2 separate regions of the Homo sapiens genome follow, and region 1 is linked to region 2. The links are contacts of gene promoters, found by promoter capture Hi-C in blood cells and fetal thymus (Javierre and others, 2016). All regions are on one chromosome and are shown on one strand. The core of a region is centred on a gene start or on the middle of the fragment in contact, and the rest is flanking DNA. Distances in the headings are between cores, read along the strand shown. Region 1 overlaps TANC2 (tetratricopeptide repeat, ankyrin repeat and coiled-coil containing 2). Region 2 holds the start of LIMD2 (LIM domain containing 2).

Region 1 (2,893 bases), core at 286-2,785, 280 kb before region 2:
AGATTTACTTCCTCTTGGATAATCCCTCCTGCAACATCAGATGGAATCACAAACTCTAAACTTCACTTTTCTACTGCCACCCTACTCCATGCCTTTCCAAAAATGGGGAACACTGATTGGTATTATTTTATGCCATGAGATTAGGGAAGCAACTGCTAGACTGCTTTAGCTCCCACATCCTTCATGAGGAAGAGAGTGACTTCTAGAGGGCTGGCCAGGTGGAGCGTCAGACCAAAAAAACAGTTCTCCAGACAAGCCAGAAATTAAGGAGGAAGTAATAACTTTGGAGTGCTTGGGGTTAGGAAGTCATATGTGTTATAGAGAGCAAAGGAACTTTGAAATGAGCATGGTCAGCCTCTTTGGAATCCAGTTGGGAAGTCAGGGTCCAGGGCCTTCCATTTGCCAAGGCTTTGCCTCCCTGGCTTGTATCTTGGGTATCCCCTCAACCTTGCCTTTCCTGCCAGGTGAGTTTCCTATAGAAAAGACTAGACCCTTCTGCCCTCACCATCAGGGCCAGAACTCCTCTCTAGGCTGGCGTTTGGGAGGGTTAGCCCTTAGTAACAGCTGCTGAGAAGAAGAAGGGAGTGGGGACCACACTTCCTCAGCTGTTCAGCAGACCAACTGTGTGTTTCGCCATCTTGTGCTCCCATTAGAAAGGTAAAGTAAAGGAAGCTGCCCAGCGCTACCAGTACGCCCTGAAGAAGTTCCCTAGAGAAGGGTTTGGTGAGGACTTGAAAACTTTCCGGGAACTAAAGGTGTCTCTCCTCCTCAACCTCTCTCGGTGTCGCAGGAAAATGAACGTAAGTCCCTGTCACCCCAACTCCTTTCTGCAATCCTGGTAGCTGATAGCCTGTGTCACTCACTAGCTTTTACCAGGCCCCTGAAATCCTCCTCTGCCCCATTTGGAACTTGGTTGTCCTTCACAGAGCACTGACATTTGCAATTTGAAAGAAATCAAGTCTAAGTACAATCTGTATCTCAAACTGTACAGAAATTAATGCTGCGAGTACTTTGCAGCTTTCTGAATGTTCATAATTTAACTGAAAGTGATGAGAATACCATCTTTCCCACCCCCATACCACCAAGTCAGTGTTCTGGTCTTTGGGAAAATGTGAGAGCAGTGGTCACTAGAATTCCAGTTGCAATTAGATGTGAATTGTAGTCATTACTCTCAGGTATATTCCCTTATCATTTGAAGAAGGGCTAAGGAGAGGGCTTGGACCATGGTCTTGAAGGTTTAATTTCTGAGGCTATCGAACTTTTCGCCTCTTTCCTCATCTTTGTATCCCAGCATGCTATGTCCCTTCTTGTCCTAGGGGGAATCTCAGAACTCCCCCTGGACCTTTATCGTCTCCCTGGTAAGCCACGGTCCTTCCTGCCTACCTTGCAGACCCATCTCACATGTCCCCAGACACTGCTCCCTCAGCCACTGCCCTTTAACGTGAAGACACTCCAAGCCAAGAACCCTCTCTCAGGTTTTGGAAATAGCTAAGATTGTGTCAGGAGTCTCTGACATCTACCTGCCTGAGGTCTCACAGTTCCTCAGGAGATAAAAATAATCCAAGCCAAACAGATGTATTGATCAATTAAAAACTCAGCTGGACAGAAGCAAGATTTGAACCTCATGGCCAGGGATCTTCCAGAAAGATTTGTGTGTGTAACCTTTAGATCATCCATTCCAGACCCTAAACCCTGACACTGGAAGGAACCTGAGTTAAACCTGACTGTCTCAGAGAACATAGCCATGACCTTCAGAGGCAGAGTTAAACCTGACTGTCTCAGAGAACACAGCCATGACCTTCAGAGGCAGAGTTAAACCTATCTCAGAGAACACAGCCATGACCTTCAGAGGCAGAGTTAAACCTGACTGTCTCAGAGAACACGGCCATGGCCCTCAGAGGCAGAGTTGCTCCAGGGTGCTGAGGGAAGTGGGGATGTGGAAGAGGCCCCCCAACCCCGGGAAGGGAGAAGGTGGCGGTCTCGGGAGACAGATTTTCATGCTCTTGGGGTCTCCTGTGAAATGAAAGGAACAGCACCAAGGCCTCCCCTGCACCAGCCGATGAGGATGAGGCAAAGCTCAGAAGTTGCTGCCAACCCACTGATCTCTTTTCCCTACCAAATAATAGACTTTTTAAAAATGCCCTCATATTTTTAGGAATAATGATGGTCCCAAAAGAACAAATAAAAGGGTAAGGCTGGAAGCAGAGCAGGGAGAGGGTGACCCATAAAAGCTGAAATTCTTTCTAGCTCCACATTTGTTCAGAAGCGGTTGTTAATCACCTCCTGGGCCAATACTGTGCCAAACACCAGACGTCTGTCTTCTTAGGTAGAGGATTTCCCATCAACTTTTAAAAAATTTTTTTACCTATGCCCCAGGGCCTTTGTTCTGCCCAAGGCCTTGTTTTCTGCCTTAGGACTCATGACCATAACCAGAGGCTACCATGCTATACTGTGGCTTTGACACTAAAAGAAGGGGAAAGCCTTCTCTTTTAGCTTAGTATTTAAGGGAATACTGAAAACCATAGGCTGCCTAGTCGGCGTTGTTCCCCACCCCACCCCCCAGTCTCTGTTTCCAGGGGTTCTCAGGAATGACATGCCTGTGAGCGTGTTCCTCTAGGGAGAGCACAGACCTCAGTCACAGCTGGGGTCTTCTCTTGTTTTGTTTTATTTTTAATTTTAAGTGTTTCCTAAGTAAGGAACCAGTTAAAAAAAGGAACAGATCAGAGAAGCCTCTGTGAAATAGAAAGAAAACGATAATTAATGAGCACCTACTATGTGCCGGGAACTGTGCAGGGCTTTTAAATACTGTATCACACTTGATCCTACCCCCGGGGTAGGTATGGATGAGAAAATACACTATACACTTGGGGGTTATGAAGCTGGTCAGAGAATT
Region 2 (2,888 bases), core at 175-2,674:
AGCTGCCCAGGCTGCAGAAGCCAAACAACGGCGTCAGGTCAGGTCAGGTCGGGGCTGGGTTGGCAGGCGAGGCGGGGGCGGGCAGGGCAGGGGCGCACCTGAGCTTGGTGTGACAGTGCTTGCAGCAGAAGCAAGAGTTGTGGAAAATGAGCTTGTCGGCCACCAGCCGCTCCATGGGGTACACGGTCTTCTGGCAGGCGGCGCAGGTCTCCTTCACCTGGGCCCGCAGGCTGAAGGACTGTGCGGGAAGCTCAGCCAGGTGCTGCCCCAGTGCTCATCCCGCTCCCTCACACCCCTCCTCCCGCACACCCGGCCCCAGGCCCCTACCTTGGAGCGCTGCACCGTGCTGCTGCCGCCGCCTTTGGCGTCCTGAGGGAGAGGGGCGGTCAGGGCAGGGGCAGCTCCGGGAGGCCCTGGATCAGGGCTGCAGCCATCAGCCCAAGGCCCAGGGGCGCGCCGCAGGGCACAAAGGGGGCCGGCAAACTCTGATGCCTCTCCCCTTCACCCCAGGCCAGGCTCCTGTCCGGGGGGCCCTCCCACCCAGCCGGGCACTTACATGAGAGGGGGTGGCCTGGGCGGCTCCTGCAGCCTGGAACATGGCTCGTTGGAGGTGGAAGCCTCGGGTGGAGAAGCGGCACCCGCTGGGTTCTGCAAGGGGAAGTCAGTCGGGAGGGCCCCGCCAGCCCGGCCCCAGCCTGCAGGGTGGGGGGTGTTGACAGGCAGGGGCTGGGGGGATTGCGGTTGGGACTTTCCCTAAGTCATTTCCTGTTGCTCTTGGTCTTGCCACTTCCGCCCCTCACCCACCTCCCCCACCCCTGCTCCCCAGGGGCCGGGGTCCCGAGTGGCACCGTCCCTCGGAAGAACAAAGTTAGCGGGAGCGGAGGGGCCGGGGGCTCCCGCGCAGCCGCCGTGTGCGTCCCGCGGGCTGGGACCGCTTGGGGTGAGGGGAGGTCGGGGCCGGCGGGGCCGCGATGAGAAGCCGCTGCCCCGACCTGACCCCGGCCCTCGCTGCCCTGCGCCGCGCCCGGGCGTCCAGGCCTAGGCTGCGCAGCCCCTGGACAGCGCCCGAGGTCCCCGCCCGCCCCGCCCCTCGGCCCCCGACCTGGCCCCGCGAGGACCGGACCCCAGACCCCGACGCCGCGAGCCCCGCCAGCGGGTCTCGGCTCCGCCCAGCCGGGGGCCGGCCCTGAAACGAGGACTCGAGCCTGTGCGCCCCGGGCGAGAGCGGCTCGCAGACTCGCCGGGACCCCACGGGCGGCCCTCACCCCACACCCCTCGGCGCCTCTCCCGGTTCCGGAGCCGGACGCGGCCCCTCCCCCCGCGGCTCTCACCAGGCCCGGCCTGGGCCGCGGGGCGGGATCGGTCTCCGGGGGCGCACGGGTACGAGGAGGGCGCGGGCGCGAGCTGCTGCCGCTACCAGTGGTCCCCGAGCCACCGCCGCCGCCACCGCCTTATCGCTGCACCGCCCCCGCCGGCCCCCGCCCCGCGCCCGCCCATTGGCTCCGCCGCGCCCGGAGCCGCCTTCGGGGCCCCGGCGCCGCCGCCGACCCCCCTCCGCGCTTTGTCTTCCCCTCGCCGCCGTCCCCGCCTTTGTCTGTCCCCCGCCCCGGCTCCGCGCTCCCGGCTCCGCAGCGCCCCGCGGGCCTCGCGCTCGCAGGCCTCGGGTACCGGCCGCGCCGTCTGCCCATCCCGACGGCGGCCCGGCGTGGGGAAGCAACGGTGGCAGGGACAGGATGGAAGGGCCGCGCTCCGCATCCTACTGGGAGGGGACGAGTTCAGGCTGCGGCGGCTGCGGTCGCGGGACACTGGGCGCTCCCGGCCTGGCTCCGGGATAACCGGGCGGGGCCTGGGCCATTCACTGCCTCGGTTTCCCCCGGTTGGCCTCGCGCGTAGGCGCCGGCGCCCCCATCCCCGCCCAGAGCTGTGGGGCCGCAGAGACCCAGCCGGGGCGACCCCGGAGCCTGGCCCGGGGTCCCTCGGGCGGCCGAGTCCTCCCGCCGCCAGGGGCCGCCCCCGCCCCTTTGCGGCCCACGAGGCTGGCGGCGGCGTCCGGGCACGCGGTCTCCAGGCCCGGCCGCGAGGCTGCGGGGAGGAGCCTGCACGAGGGCCCGGCAGCCCCGGCAGCCCCCCCAGCCCTCGGCGCCTCTGCAACCCTGCGACGGGCTGGGGAGGCCGGTATGCGTGGTTCCCGGAGCACCCGTCCCCCGAGGCTCCACGTACTCAAGCGTTTCTGGGGCGGAATTCTGTGGGCAGCAACGGGGGCCCCCTCTCCAACAAGCGCACCTCATTTCTCACGTGGGAGCCGCGGCCCAGAGAGCTGAGGTGACAGAGCTTGGGCCGCAGAGCTGCTCCCTCCCTGCAGCCGCACAGCAGGCCGGAGGCACAGCCGGCGAGAGACGGCCACTCGCTTTGGAGCGGCGGCGAGGCCGGCGCCTTCCCGGGCACCAGGGACTGCGTGGCTTGGCCGGAAATCAGGCTAGAAGCAGCTCCGGGAAGCACAGCCCTTAGCCCAGCGCCTTCCCACACTGTGGCAGGAATAGCACTGGCGGCCCACGCGCTTGTCAGGGAACAGAACAGCTCTCGCCCGACGCCTGGCAGGGGAGCAGGGAGGCTGCAGCTTCCCCAGCGACCAGCTGTTTCCCAGGCTGGCGGACTCCACGGACCGGCTCCGCGTCTCCTCTCCAGCCTTCTGTTCTCTCTAGAGGAAGATCTGCGTTTTGTCTGCACTGTGGGCCGACTCTCTAGTGGGGAGCGTCAGACCCTCTAAAGTGGCTGCCTCTCGGGAAAGCTTCCACACCTGTCATCAGATTCTCCAAAGGGGCTGTTTGATGCAAGAAACGGGAAGCCCCGGGGGTACTAGGAGCAGGGCTTGCTGCCATTGGGCATGG

Evidence for each region. Contacts are between HindIII fragments. The CHiCAGO score rates a contact against its expected background, and 5 or more counts as called.
Region 1: a contact is called between a fragment that was not itself captured here and the fragment with the promoter of LIMD2 in region 2, in 7 of 17 cell types (megakaryocytes, fetal thymus, activated CD4 T cells and 4 more). The highest score is 5.7, in megakaryocytes.

The regions. Positions count from the first base shown.
Region 1 is chr17:63,414,875-63,417,767 of GRCh38, forward strand. It overlaps TANC2 (tetratricopeptide repeat, ankyrin repeat and coiled-coil containing 2), which reads left to right. Exons shown (of 28, transcript NM_001394998.1): 26 at 654-800. Among named protein-coding and RNA genes, the nearest start is that of CYB561, 30 kb to the right of the region's middle. The HindIII fragment of the contact is 3,917 bases long and covers 1-2,893 here.
Region 2 is chr17:63,698,701-63,701,588 of GRCh38, forward strand. It overlaps LIMD2 (LIM domain containing 2), which reads right to left and starts at 1,425. Exons shown (of 5, transcript NM_030576.4): 1 at 1,332-1,425; 2 at 557-648; 3 at 328-369; 4 at 99-238; 5 at 1-11. The coding sequence starts at 598. LOC729683 (a long non-coding RNA gene) reads left to right here and starts at 1,638. Exons shown (of 1, transcript NR_046273.1): 1 at 1,638-2,888. RefSeq lists silencers at 304-533, 624-1,083, 1,174-2,133 and enhancers at 1,838-2,423, 2,424-2,888, 2,804-2,888. The HindIII fragment of the contact is 14,945 bases long and covers 1-2,786 here.